5 separate regions of the Homo sapiens genome follow, and regions 2, 3, 4 and 5 are each linked to region 1. The links are contacts of gene promoters, found by promoter capture Hi-C in human tissues and cell types (Jung and others, 2019). All regions are on one chromosome and are shown on one strand. The core of a region is centred on a gene start or on the middle of the fragment in contact, and the rest is flanking DNA. Distances in the headings are between cores, read along the strand shown. Region 1 holds the start of KDM4B (lysine demethylase 4B). Region 2 holds the start of HSD11B1L (hydroxysteroid 11-beta dehydrogenase 1 like). Region 3 overlaps SAFB2 (scaffold attachment factor B2). Region 4 has its middle 18 kb from the start of TINCR. Region 5 overlaps CHAF1A (chromatin assembly factor 1 subunit A).

What was found. The method cuts DNA at HindIII sites, captures the fragments that hold promoters and counts their contacts. A contact is called where the count stands out against the background at its distance.
Region 2: the fragment with the promoter of HSD11B1L here is called in contact with the fragment with the promoter of KDM4B in region 1 in 1 of the 25 tissues and cell types used here (dorsolateral prefrontal cortex).
Region 3: a contact is called between a fragment that was not itself captured here and the fragment with the promoter of KDM4B in region 1, in 1 of the 25 tissues and cell types used here (dorsolateral prefrontal cortex).
Region 4: a fragment that was not itself captured here is called in contact with the fragment with the promoter of KDM4B in region 1 in 1 of the 25 tissues and cell types used here (dorsolateral prefrontal cortex).
Region 5: a fragment that was not itself captured here is called in contact with the fragment with the promoter of KDM4B in region 1 in 1 of the 25 tissues and cell types used here (dorsolateral prefrontal cortex).

What each region holds. Positions count from the first base shown.
Region 1 is chr19:4,967,802-4,970,461 of GRCh38, reverse strand. KDM4B (lysine demethylase 4B) reads right to left here and starts at 1,349. Exons shown (of 23, transcript NM_015015.3): 1 at 1,232-1,349. RefSeq lists silencers at 1,176-1,475, 1,786-1,885. The HindIII fragment of the contact is 14,440 bases long and covers 1-2,660 here.
Region 2 is chr19:5,679,676-5,682,335 of GRCh38, reverse strand. HSD11B1L (hydroxysteroid 11-beta dehydrogenase 1 like) reads right to left here and starts at 1,309. Exons shown (of 8, transcript NM_198706.3): 1 at 1,065-1,309. It overlaps MICOS13 (mitochondrial contact site and cristae organizing system subunit 13), which reads left to right and starts at 1,820. Exons shown (of 4, transcript NM_205767.3): 1 at 1,820-1,878; 2 at 2,573-2,660. The coding sequence starts at 1,850. RefSeq lists a silencer at 1,132-1,341 and enhancers at 1,392-1,861, 1,872-1,971, 1,992-2,071, 2,102-2,211, 2,592-2,660. The HindIII fragment of the contact is 40,206 bases long and covers 1-2,660 here.
Region 3 is chr19:5,602,455-5,605,114 of GRCh38, reverse strand. SAFB2 (scaffold attachment factor B2) reads left to right here. Exons shown (of 21, transcript NM_014649.3): 10 at 179-328; 11 at 420-532. Among named protein-coding and RNA genes, the nearest start is that of SAFB2, 19 kb to the left of the region's middle. The HindIII fragment of the contact is 4,913 bases long and covers 1-2,660 here.
Region 4 is chr19:5,548,582-5,551,241 of GRCh38, reverse strand. No RefSeq gene overlaps it. Among named protein-coding and RNA genes, the nearest start is that of TINCR, 18 kb to the left of the region's middle. The HindIII fragment of the contact is 3,354 bases long and covers 1-2,660 here.
Region 5 is chr19:4,414,833-4,417,492 of GRCh38, reverse strand. All of the region lies in intron 3 of CHAF1A (chromatin assembly factor 1 subunit A), which reads right to left. Among named protein-coding and RNA genes, the nearest start is that of CHAF1A, 14 kb to the right of the region's middle. The HindIII fragment of the contact is 3,051 bases long and covers 1-2,660 here.

The sequences.
Region 1 (2,660 bases), core at 100-2,599:
CAGGCACCCGGTGGGACCCAAAGGAACTTGCTGAATACACGCCCCAGCCAGAAACACATGGAAAAAGACGCTCTTCACATATGACAGGATCACTAGGCTCCACGGAGCTGAACCACCTTCTCACTAGTTTCACAACTCGGGGAACACTTCCTCACAGGGTGCTGGTAAATTATTAAAACAGAAGCATCCTCCCCCAAGCAAACAGATGGGATGCACCCAAAAGCAGTCCATGCCTCCACTGCCCCCAGGGGCGGAAAACATGCCCCTTAAAACCTTCCACCGTGCCCAGGTGGACAGAGTCCCCCGTCCTGCCTGATTGTCATGGCCACCACTGAGCGCAGACCTGGGCCCTGGCAGACCCCAGGTCAAGCAGATTTCAGAGCGAGTCCGTCCCCAGCTCCCAGGGGGATGTCCACGGGGGACACAGAAAAGGGGTCTCGGCGGAAGCAACTCCTCAATTCATTTCTCTAGAGCAGGGGCTTCGTTCGAGATGGCGATCAGGCTGGAAGGGGGAGGGACGGAGAGACTCGTGGAGGCTGCCGTTGCATAGCAAGATGATTTTTTTCTAAAATCCAGATTGCATATGCTTATGGCGGGGTGGGGGTTTCGGGTACGTACAGGGGGGCAAGTTTGGAAGCTACCAAGGCATAGCAGGTTGACCGGAGGTGGGGGCAGTGCAGGAGCAATGATAGGCATTTAGGGGGCATCCCTGGGTGTCCAGCTGGGGGGCTTCCCCTTAGCCCCCCTGGCGCCCAAAGGGCCAGAAACGCAGGCGGGGGTTACCCAGGGGCTGGGGTCTTTTTCCTTTTTCTTGCTTTCTTTCAAAAATAATAATAATAATAGGCCGAGGCTTGTCCCGGGTGATAAAAGGGCCCGGCCGGGGCCACCCACGCTGTCATCTTTTGTGCGGGGCGCCGGGGCCGTCTGTGCCCAGCCCCCGCGCGCCCCCGGCCCGGGAAGGGGCCCCCGCTCCCGCCCCTGGGCGCGCCCCGCCATTGTCCGGCCCCGCCGCCCCCGCCCGAAAACCAGCGGGCGCCCCCGGGCCGGGCGGTTAACGCCCCAACCGCCCCGCCGGCCCGGACAAAGCGCGAGGCCCGGCCCGAGCAGGCCGCGCCCGAGGCCTGGGCCTCGAGTCCCGGGCGCGCCCGCAGCCCCGAGCCGCGACGCGGGGGCGGCCATGGCGGCGGGGTCCGCGCTCGGACACGGCCGGGCGGCCTCCCCGTGGGCTCACCTGAGGCGGCGTGCGCGGCCCGGTCCGGGAGCAGCGGCGCGCTCTCCCCCGCCCTCGGCGTCGCACCCCCAGGCCCCGCTCGGGCCGGGCCCCGCTCGGTTGCTGGCGACCGAGCCCTCCGCAAGCGCTCGCGGGGGGGCTTATAAGGCCGCGCGCCAGCTCCGCCCCGACTGCCATTGGCTGCCGGATCCACGCCCGAGCGCCCATTGGCCGGAGCTGACAGCTCCGCCCCTCCCCTCCGCCGGGCCCATCAACACCGCACGGCCCGCCCACCGCGCGCCGCGATTGGGCGGGGACAAACGCCGGCCTCGCCTCTTCATTGGCAGACCGGCGGGGACACGCCGGCGCCCACCCACGTGCCCGCTGACCGGCTCTGTTCTCATTGGAGGGGGCGCACGCCAGCCAAGGCTGCCGCGACCAACCCGACGGCAGCTGGGCCTTGGATTGACAAGGGAGCCTCAGGGCCCGCCCGACGACCGCACAGAGAGGAGCCAGTATTGGCTTGAGGGGCCAGCCCGAGGCGCGGACAGGCTGGGGCAGGTGCCAATCACTGCCCGCAAGCTCCGGGCCCCGCCCTGGTTATCAGGCGGCGGCTGAGTACGTGAGACCCAGCACAGCATCAGCACCGGCCGGGAACGTGCAGGCTGGAGGTTCGAAACCCGTGGCCGGAATGTGGGCTTAGCGTTCCCCAATTTGCAAAGTGCCAAGCAAGGAGACATAGCGATCCGTTTTGCAAAGGAGGAGAACCGAGAACATAGGGTAAAGCAGCAAGAGCCTCCACCCCGCCACCGTAGGTCTATTCCCATCACAATCAACAAACCTTTGCCAAGGGGCAAGGCCTTCGGAATAGTTAGGGTCCCTCTCCCCGAGTTCCCTAAAATGTATGGGAGAGAATGAGCTTTGGTGCTTTCTGACCTGGATTCAAAGCTAAGCCGGGCCCCATGCCTCACTGTGGTTGACCTCCAGCAAAGTAACCTCGCTGAGTCTGTTTCCAACTGTGCAATGGATATGATGGTAGTGGCCACACCCCGTCTACCCGCCTCTTGAGAATGTTGCAAGGATTAAGTGGGATGAGGCACGGAGAAAGATTTGACCCTGTGACTTCACAAAATGAGCATTCATTGTGTACTGGACCACGCAGGGGTGTGAGGCATGCCCCCATTTGGAGTGGCAGGAGTGTAAATTGGGCAATTTGACATTTTCTAATAACATTCTAAGTGCATCCACCACCCGATAACCCAGCCAGCAGTTCTTCCTGGAGGTGATGTACCCAGAAAAAAGGTCTGGAGCTTACACAATTCAAGAATGCCGGCGGCAGGGCTGTCTGCAACTGTTTCCAATGTTTTGCACTAACTATCCATCAGTGGGGGATTAGAGAAGTAACTTAATAGCAATCAGTACTCTGGAATACTTACTATGTAGCAATTGA
Region 2 (2,660 bases), core at 60-2,559, 710 kb before region 1:
CGATTTGGTCTCCCCCACCTCCACACTGGCTTCCCCATGTCCATACTCATTCTCTCCCTGCCTCTTCTGTCAATGCAGCCAAAGGCGTCTGTGTCAAAAGCAACATGGCCATGGCCCTTCCTGCTCCAAACCCTCTCAGGGGTCCCCACTGCAACTGATGGAAACCAGGCTCCTCACTGCACCCCATGAGGCCCTGCAGGTATAGCCCCTGACTACCTGTCTATCCTTCTCTCCCACGGCCCCATCTATGAATCGTTCAGTTCTCAAAATAATGAACTCCTCACCTTTCCCAGACACACCAGGCATGCCCACAGCAAGAAACGAGCTTCCACCTTTTCCCCTTCCAGGGACAGCCCATGAAGCTCCTCTGCTCATCCCTCTTTCCACCCCCAGCTCTACACTGACTGCAGCAGCCCGGCAGGGGGAAGTGGGACCAGATGGACTGACGGGTGGACGGATGGGTGGATGGATGAATGGATAGATGGACAGATGCATGTATGGATGCATAGATAGAAGGATGGATGGGTGGATGGCCAGATGAATAGATGGATGGGTGGATGGATGGATGATGGACGGAGAGATGTATGGGTGGATAGATGGATGAGTGGATGGATGTATGAATGGATAAATGGGAACACATAAATGGATGGATGGATGGATGGATGGATGGACGGACGGATGCATGGATGGATGGATGGATGGATGGATGGATGGACGGATAGATGAGTGGGTGGCCAGATAAATAGATGGATGGGTGGACAGATGGATGAGTGGAAGGATGGGGGGAGCAGATGGATGAATGGATGGGCGGACAGATGGATGAACGGAAGTGTGGATGGATAGATGGAAGGATAGATGGGTGGATGGCCAGATGGATAGACGGGTGGGGGACAGATGGATGGATGGGCAGATGAACGGTTGAAGCAGCCCGGCCGAAATGCGGGAGAAATGGGGGGAAGCCCTGCAGAACGCATCGGCCCCTTCTTGACCTCGGCGGGCCTTAGCTTCCCCTCTGAACAAAGCGGGCGTGTGACCCTCTGCGCACCCCTAAACCGTGCACTCACCCGCTCAGGCCTCAGTTTCCCCCACTGTCCAGCGGGGGTGGGGTCCCGGGCTGGGAGCCACGCGAACGCCCCCACGGTCCTCTCTTCTCGGCCGCCTCCTGCCGGGTCCCCGACCGCACCCCCTCCCGTAGGGCACGGGTCACGTGACTCGAAGCCCACCTCCTCCCGGGGAGGGGCCGGGCCTCGGGGACCCAGCGCCGGAGCGTCGCCGGGCAACAGTGCCCGCCTGGTCTTCGCCTCCCAGCAGGGGCCCGGCCCCGCCCACTGGGCGGACGCCCCGCCTCCGAATCGATCACGTGAGGGGGCCGCAGCGCTCGAACAATCCCGCCCTCTCGTTGCCGTGACAACCGCCTTGTAGGCACACTCTTCTTAAATCCGGGCCCTTGGTCCCCCGCGCGGGCGCGGGTGGATCTCTCGGGCTCTGACTTGTTTTCGGGTCACCTTCAGGCTTCAGCCAGGCACCTGACGCCTCTTTCCCCTCACGGTGCCAGGGCCGGGCCGAACTACATTTCCCAGGAGGCTCCGCGGCCAGGTGCAAACAGCGCCGTGCTGACTACATTTCCCAGACAGCCTTGCGGCGGCCCGGGCCTTAAAGCGTCCATTTCCCAGCGGCCCTCCGCTGCGAGACCGCAGCCCTTCTCTGGAGTCTCAGAGCCGCAAGACACCACGACTCCCAGAGGACCTTGCGTCGGGCAAGAAAGACTACACCTTCCAGAGGCCTCTGCGGCGCCGCGACAGGAAGCGGCGGGCGAGCCGAGTGTCCTTGCGCGTGGATCCGAGCGACCATGGTGGCCCGGGTGTGGTCGCTGATGAGGTGCGTGGGGGCGCCGGAGGGGACCCGAGTCCCCGAAAAAGTCCATTTTTGTGGGCATCCCTGTCTCCAGTCTGGTCCCGATCTGCTCTTCGCTTCCCTTAGAGTCACTTCCCCTTCGTTCCCCGCCTATGGGCCAGATAGGGAAACTGAGGCTTCAGAGGGGCGGGGCTTCCCGAGGTCGCCAATCCCCTCCCTCCTGCTTCCCAGCGAGCCCTTGGCGTTCAGTTCGCGGTGTCAGCCTCCGCCTCCGAGCCTCAGTTGTCTTCTCTGTGAGGTGGGAATGCCGGTGAATCCTGCCGCTGGCGTGGATGAGAAGTGAATGCGTGCTCGGAGCTGCGAGTGACAGCGGGCAGGAGGCGCCCAGGGACACTTGGTTTCTCCAGGGCTGGAAGGCTTCTAGAAGGTCAAGATCTTACGTCTTCACTGCCCCTGCTCACTGTGGGACTTTGAGTGACCCACTCTCCCCCTCTGGGTTTCAGTTCATCAGTTCAAGTGGCGTCCAGCCGCCCTGCCTTGCACGTTGTAAAACGAGTGCTGTATATAATAGGGGTCTGGGTCGACGGTGCTGCACTACAGAGTGTCACCCTGTGGACGGTGAGCCCTCAGGAGGGTCTCACTCTCCCCGTGGGCCTTGGCCCCTGAGGGTGGCTGTCAGTGTCCGCTGAGCTTCTGCTCCTCCCGTCCCTGCCCGCAGGTTCCTCATCAAGGGAAGTGTGGCTGGGGGCGCCGTCTACCTGGTGTACGACCAGGAGCTGCTGGGGCCCAGCGACAAGAGCCAGGCA
Region 3 (2,660 bases), core at 77-2,576, 630 kb before region 1:
AAAGCAATTGTATTTGGATAGGTCAGGATTAATTAGAACCAATTCAGTAACTAAAATGGAAAACTACCATATGGGGAGAGGTGACAAATAGTGAAAATGATTCTGATTGCCAGGTAATAACTTTAGCAAGTTGTGTGGTCATTTGTATGAGAGAGTAAGAGTGCCCTTTTTCATGAAGGTTGTCGGGGCCAAAGTGGTAACGAACGCCCGCAGCCCGGGGGCTCGATGCTATGGATTCGTCACCATGTCGACATCTGACGAGGCGACCAAGTGCATCAGCCATCTCCACAGAACTGAGCTGCATGGACGAATGATCTCCGTAGAGAAGGTGAGGCAGTTCTCGTCTATGGTAACTCGCAAATGGAGTTTGCAAGTGAGAAGCTCTGGGCCACACATCATTTCTGTCTATTATATTTTAGGCCAAAAATGAGCCTGCTGGGAAAAAGCTTTCCGACAGAAAAGAGTGCGAAGTGAAGAAGGAAAAATTATCGAGTGTCGACAGACATCATTCTGTGGAGATCAAAATTGAAAAGTAAAGTGAATTTTCAAACCTCCTCTTGGAATCCCTGGGAGGAGGGCACGGGCAGCCACCATGGGCCTTGAAAAACACGCATCTGTCCCCACCTGTACCCACGCAGCCTTGCCAGCTTCCTGCTGGAGTCTCAGCTGATTTTTGTGTTCTGCTGCCACTTTAATATTCAGCTTTTATTTATTTATTTTTTGGAGACAGGGACTCACTCTGTTGCCTAGGCTGGAGTGCAGTGGCACTGCAGCCTCCACCTTCCGGGTTCAAGTGATTCTCCTACTTCAGCCTCCCAAGTAACTGGGACTACTGCAGGCGTACACCACCCAGCCAGGCTACTTTTTATAGAGACGCGGTTTCGCCATGTTACCAAGGCTGGTCTCAAACTCCTGAGTTCACATGATTTGCCCGCCTTGGCCTCTCAAAGTGCTAGGATTACAGGTGTGAGCCACCACGCCCTGCCAGTCTTCAGCTTTCTGTGTAAAGCTATTTAACGAAGTAGCCCATGTCTTTAAGAAGTGGATACAGTTGATCCTCAGCATGTATTTGTTTCCTGATAACTGATTAGCCTTTTGAAAAAACAGTATACACAAAATGTCATTTTCCATATTCTGGTCCCTTGTACAGCCTCTCAGACCTTGGAATCATTTCCTCATCCACGTTGATTTTCATGCAGTTCTCACTTATTAATCACAGCAACTGTCATACACCCAGTTTTTCAAAGATAAAGCATCATCCAAAGGAATTTAGCCTGGTCTAGTGTTGCAGTGAATGACCTTGAGTGAGCAGTTGGTGCTGTGTCTGACAGATGGCAAAAGCATTGCTGTGTTTACCTCAAAATTAAAAATATTCCAAGGCACCCTGTGAGTTCACAGTGCCACCCTGTGAGTTCTCACGGTGGCACCCTGTGAGTTCACGGTGGCACCCTGTGAGTTCACGGTGGCACCTTGGGGTACCTTGGCGTACCTTGGCGTAGTAGTTGGGAACCATGGGTCTGAGGTTCTATTTTTATAAAGGGGTGATTTATATCTTTAATCAAAATGGAGGTAGGGACAGATCTTTCAAGGGAGGTGTGGGTTGTTTATATTTTTAACACAATTGTAGGCTTCTCTTTTGAGAAGGTAGATTTCCGTGTTGTATCTGATCATGGCAGTGTCTCAGAAGGCTGAGTGTCTGCCTTAAGTTTACGTTGTCAACGCAGTTTAGAGGGTAAACATGTCTGTGGACATAGTTGAACTGGGTTTTTGAAGATGTAATTACCAATTTACATCATGGCCAAATTGGAATTATTATTTTTAATTGGAATTATTATTTTTAAAAAACATTTTACTTTTTGAGACGGGTCACCCAGGCTGGAGTGCATTGATGCAGTCATGGCTCATTACAGCCTCGACTTCCCAAGCCCAAGTGAACCTCCCACCTCAGCCTCCCTAGTAGCTGGGGCTACAGGTGTGGGCTACCACTCCCAGGTAATTTTTAAATTTTTGATAGAGACAGGGTCTTGCTCTTTTGCTCAGGTTGGTTTCCACCCTGGCCTCAAGCAATTTTCCCACCTTGGCCCCACAAAAGACTGGGATTATAGGTGTGAGCCACTGCACCTGGCCCCAGATTGAAATCAGTAGGCCCCTGAGTAATGAGTGTCAGATGAGCCTTCATGAACTTGGAGGAGGGGGGTGGGGGGGGCGGTGAGCCCTCTAATTTAATCAGCAACTTCAAAAAGACACATCCCATCAGCATTGCTAAGAAAAAAATGTCTGTATTGGTGGAAGATGGGGAACTGTTGTTGCAGGTTTGCGGTGTTCTTGGTATCTTGCGTGTTTCATTAATTGTTTTTCTGTATTTGTGGGAAAGGCGGTAATAATTAGCTAACAGTATGGTGTGGTCCTGTGGCCAGCACTGGGAATGCAGCAGTTTCCTTGGTCCTTGTAGTAGCCCTGTGAGGCACTTGCTCTATGTAGGAGAGGATACAGGCCTAGAGAGGGGAGCGCGCCCTGCCTGAGTTTGCTGGGAAACGGCAAGGCTGGGATTCAACCTATGAAGTTTGCTCGGAGCCCCATGGCTCTTAACTGGGTGATGGACTTAAGATTTTTTTTTTTTTTTTTTTTTTTTTTTGAGACAGAGTCTCGCTCTGTCACCC
Region 4 (2,660 bases), core at 86-2,585, 580 kb before region 1:
TCGGCCTAATAAGGGAACTGGGCAGGTGGGGATAACTAAAAAAGAGTGCATAAAAGAGTGTTGTCTAAGTTGGCACCAGAGTGGGGGAGTTTTCAGGGGTTTTGAAGCCTGGCCGTCAATACCCACAACAGTTATGGAGGCAAGGGAAACAGGCCCTTGAAAAGAAGATAATGTGGAGTGGGTAGCCTCCGTATTGATTAAGAAGGGGACGGACTTACCTTCCACTGTGAGAGTTACCCGAAGCTCGGCGTCCGTGATGGTCTACGGGGCTTCCGAGGCGATCGGGCAGCGTCAGTCTTCAGCCGCTAAGCCGAGAAGATCTGGGAAGGAGTCAGTCAGAGAGCCTTGGGCCAGAGTTCCAGGGGCTCTGGGAGTGGCTGCCAGGTGAGTTGAACAGTCCGATTTTCAGTGGGGTCCCACACAGATGGGACGCGGCTTAGGAGGAATCCCGGGCAGCGGGCATTCCTTGGCCCAGTGGCCAGATTTCCGGCACGTGTAGCAAGCTCCTGGGGGAGGAGGTTCTGGAGGAACGCCTGGCCGCTGCGGTTCAGGCATTTGGAAGTTCTTGTGTGCTGGAGATGTGGCTGGGGTTTGTCTCACAGTGGAGGCAAGGAATTGCAACTTTTTTCTATTATTGTACACCTTGAAGGCGAGGTTCATTAAGTCCTGTTGTGGGGTTTGAGGGCCGGAATTTAATTTTTGGAGTTTTATTTAATGTCGGGAGCAGATTGGGTAATAAAATATATTTTGAGAATAAGACGGCCTTTTGACTTTTTAGGGTCTAGGGCTGTAAAGTGTCTCAGGGTTACTGCCAAACAAGTCATGAACTGGGCTGGGTTTTTATATTTGATGAAAAAGAGCCTAAACGCTTCTGATTTGGGATAAAGAAAAAGGAGCATTAACCTCGACTATGCCTTTGGCTCCAGCCACCTTTTTAAGAGTAAATTGCTGGGCAGGAGGGGGAGGGCTAGTCACGGAACGAAACTGTAAGCCGGACCAGGTGTGAGGAGGGGAGGCGATAAAAAAATGACAGGATGCAGGAGCAGAGGCTGAGGAAGAATTGGGACTTAGCTTGGGCTGGCGAGGAGGGGAGAGGTCAGATGGGTCTGTAGAAAAGGAAGATGAGAAAGACTCAGCGACGCTTGGGGTTGGGACTGAGGGGACAGGTGGGAGGGAAAGAAGGAAGATTTGGGACGAGTTGCACTGGGCACAGAGAGTAGGAAGGGACTGATGGACTTCAGGCACCTCAGACCATTTGCCCATTTTACGACAAGAATTATTTAGATCTTGTAGGATGGAAAAATTGAAAGTGCCGTTTTCCGGCTATTTGGAACTACTGTCGAGCTTGTATTGGAGTCAAGCGGCATTGCAGAAGAAAATAAGGCATTTAGGTTTTAGGTCAGGTGTGAGTTGAAGAGGTTTTAAGTTTTTGAGAACACAGGCTAAAGGAGAAGGAGGAGGAATGGAAGGTGGAAGCTTACCCATAGTGAAGGAGGCAAGCCCAGAAAAAAGAGTAGAGACACGGAGAAGGGGTGGGGGGTTCTCGCCCTCCAGAAAAGCAGAGAAGGGGTTGGGGCACGGAAGTAAGGGATTGGGGCACAAAGAGGTCAGGGTGTGGAAATAAGGGATTGGGGTGCAGAGATATAAGAGGTTGGGGTGCGGAAATAAGCGATTGGGGGTTTCTTGCCCCCTAGGAAAGCGGGACTTGCCACTGAGGGTGAAGGAGAAGGGGTTGAGGGGTACTTGCCCCTGCCCCAGGAAAGCGGGACTTGCCACTAAGGGTGAAGGACCAAGGCGGGCGTCCCTGCGTGGTCTGACACCCTTGAAACGTGAGTGTATAATCAGAGAGGCGTCCCTGCAATGATTAAACACCAAGGGAAGGCTGCCTTCCCAGTCCGTGACCGGCGCCGGAGTTTTGGGTTCACGGATAAAACATGTCTCTTTTGTCTCTACCAGAAAATGAAAGGAATTGAAATTAAGAGAAGGGAGAGATTGAAATGTGGCGCCAAGATTGAAAGGAGAAAGAGGTTGAGGGATAGTGAGGGAGGTTGGAGAAGAGAGTAAAAAGAGGCCGCTTACCGGATTTGAAATTGGTGGGATGTTTCCTGGGCTGGTTGGACTGAGGACCTGAGGTGGTAGGTGGATCTTTCTCACGGAGCAAAGAGCAGGAGGACAGGGGATTGACCTCCCAAGGGAGGTCCCCCGATCCGAGTCACGGCACCAAATTTCATGCGCGTCTGTGTGAAGAGACCACCAAACAGGCTTTGTGTGAGAAGCATGGCTGTTTATTTCACCTGGGTGCAGGCCGGCTGAGTCCGAAAAGAGAGTCAGCGAAGGGAGATACGGGTGGGGCCGTTTTATAGGATTTGGGAAGGTAATGGAAAATTACAGTCAAAGGGGGTTGCTCTCTGGTGGGCAGGGGTGGATCTCACAAAGTACATTCTCAAGGGTGGGGAGAATTACAAAGAACCTTCTTAAGGGTGGGGGAGACTACAAAGTACATTGATCAGTTAGGGTGGGGCAGGAACAAATCACAATGGTGGAATGTCATCAGTTAAGGCTGTTTTTACTTCTTTTGTGGATCTTCAGTTACTTCAGGCCATCTGGATGTATACGTGCCAGTCACAGGGGATGCGATGGCCTGGCCTGGGCTCAGAGGC
Region 5 (2,660 bases), core at 43-2,542, 550 kb after region 1:
TGAGACTCTGTCTTAAAAAAAAAAAAAAAAAAAAAGCGACAGCTGGCCTGGGCGACAGGGAGAGGATGGATTTGTAGCAAAGGAGAGAGGACCTGCCTGTCCAAAGGAGATGGAGTTCTTACAGGAATATAGATCCCTATTTGCTGGTCCTTCCAATTTCTCCAAGAGAAGCTGATATTAGGAATTTCATATGAATTTTTTTAGGTGTTTAAAAATGGACACAGACGGGCACAGTGGCTCATGCCTGTAATCCCAGCACTTTGGGAGGTCAAGGCGGGAGGATCACTTGAGCCCAGGAGTTCAAGACCAGCCTGGGCAATAAAGCAAGACCCTGTCTCTAAAAAAAGCTTTTAGTTAGTCGGGTGTTGTGGTGCACATCTGTAGTCCTAGCTACCCAGGAGTCTGGGGTGGGAGGAGCCCGGGAGGTTGAGGCTGCACTGAGCTGTCCAACCTGGGTGACAGAGTGAGACTGTCTAAAAAAAAAATAAAAAGATACTAAATTAATCAAATAAAACATGTCTCCAGGCTGGTTTCCTGTGCACCACTAATTTACATTCTGTCTAGCTCAACTCTGCTTTTTATTTTAATGTTATTTTTGAGATGGAGTCTTACTCCTGTCACAGAGGCTGGAGTGCAGCGAGTGCCACGATCTCGGCTCACTGCAACCTCTACCTCCCAAGTTCAAGCGATTCTCCTGCCTCAGCTTCTTGAGTAGCTGGGATTATAGGCGTGTGCCACCACACCTGGCTAATTTTTGTATTTTTAGTGGAGATAGGGGTTTCATCATGTTGGCCAGGCTGGTCTCGAACTCCTGACCTCAGGTGATCCACCCGCCTCGCCTCCCAAAGTGCTAGGAATTCAGGCGTGAGCCACCGCGCCCAGCCAACTCTGCTTTTTAGAATGTGGAGTGAAAGCTTAAGACAAAAGGGAAACTTGCTGGGGTTTTCTAGGACTTCTACCTTCTAGGGCACAATATTTTCTATCACCTACCTTCAAACTGAGCATGAGCTACTAGGAATTACCAATAGGATCCATGGTGTGACTCACCATCCACCTAAATGGTCCCAGGAAGGAAGACGAACAGGGAGTCTGGACTTTGGCCTAAGCTATCTCCCACCGGGGCAGGGAATCCTGAAAACCAAACTAGTAGAAGTGAAGAGCAATGGGAAGAGACGCTTAAGAGTGGGAAGAAATAGTTCTCCGGGTTCATTGCAGACTTGCAGTGTAAGACTGAAGTTGACTGAAAAACCAAAGGCCCATTTTCCTGGCAATGGTCTGAGGGGTCAACAAAATTATGTAAGTGATTTCTTTTTTTTTTTGAGACGGAGTCTCGCTCTGTCGCCCAGGCTGGAGTGCAGTGGCGCCATCTCGGATCACTGCAAGCTCCGCCTCCCGGGTTCAAGCGATTCTCCTGCCTCAGTCTGCCCAGTAGCTGGGACTATAGGTGCCCACCACCATGCCTGGGTAATTTTTTTGTATTTTTAGTAGAGATGGGGTTTCACCATGTTAGCCAGGATGGTCTCGATCTCCTGACCTCGTGATCCGCCCGCCTCGGCCTCCCAAAGTGCTGGGATTAAAGGCGTGAGCCACCGCGCCCGGCCAACAGTGATTTCTTTATCTGGGAAAGCTGAACCCCTGACTAGGACCTCTCACAGAATAAAAGCTTCAGATGAATGAGCTCAAGACAGCCTTTCCACCTGGGTCCCACTGAGTCCTTTCTGGACTAAACCTTTCTTTAGGGAAAGGCCGAGCCGTTGTGAGAAGGCTGCCCGTGTTGGCAGGAGCTCTTTCACCACCGAGATCAGGCCAGGGTGTTCAGTCTTTGCTGAGAATGTGGCAACAGAAATGCCAGCCCGAGGCAGCCTCACCAAATGCTGCAGAAAAAGCATCTGTCTCTCCAGCATCTACTCTGCCTGCCAAGGCTGTGTGCCTCTCCCCCACGCTGAGGGATTTAACTGCAGAATATGGGAGCCGCAGCTCTCCGGGGCTGCCCTTTGTGTTCAGAGATTATAATACGGAATGTGGTCTTGGGGTGGCGGGGAATTCAGTTCCTTAGTCTTGCCCATGCCTGAAGCTCAGCTGCAGAATCTCCTGCCTCTTACAATGCCCCCCCTCTGCTGTGAGTCCAGAGATAACAGACTTGATGTGACTGGCAAGAGCCCGCTCAGTAATATCCAACAACCAAAACAGAGCAATTACTGCTTAATTTAAAACTGGTATCTTTTTTGCTTTGCCAAACCCTCAGATGGACCTTGAAGTCTGACAGAACTTTATCTTCTTGAAATTTGACCCAAGTGTTTATAGATCTCACTCTCAAAATTCTATGCAACACTCCCACATTCTACCCAGCTGGAGCCCGGTCAGACAGCACCCTCAACTGCCAAAAACGTGATCCAGGATCCCAGAAGGAAGCCAAAACACAAAAACCGACAATCCCAAGGAGTCGCGACAGAGCTCACTATGTGTGGGCATGAAAATTCCTGCACCCTTTCTCAGATAATCCTCTCAGAGCCTATGGACTCTGATTTTATACTAAAGGGTATCTAATTTCTAAGCCCAGACCAGATAAGCCGCTAAAACCTGACAGCAGGGGAGCGGAGGCAGGGGGGAAAAGAGAAAACCTCCAATTGGCCCAAGCATGAGAGAGTGCAAGCTGGGAA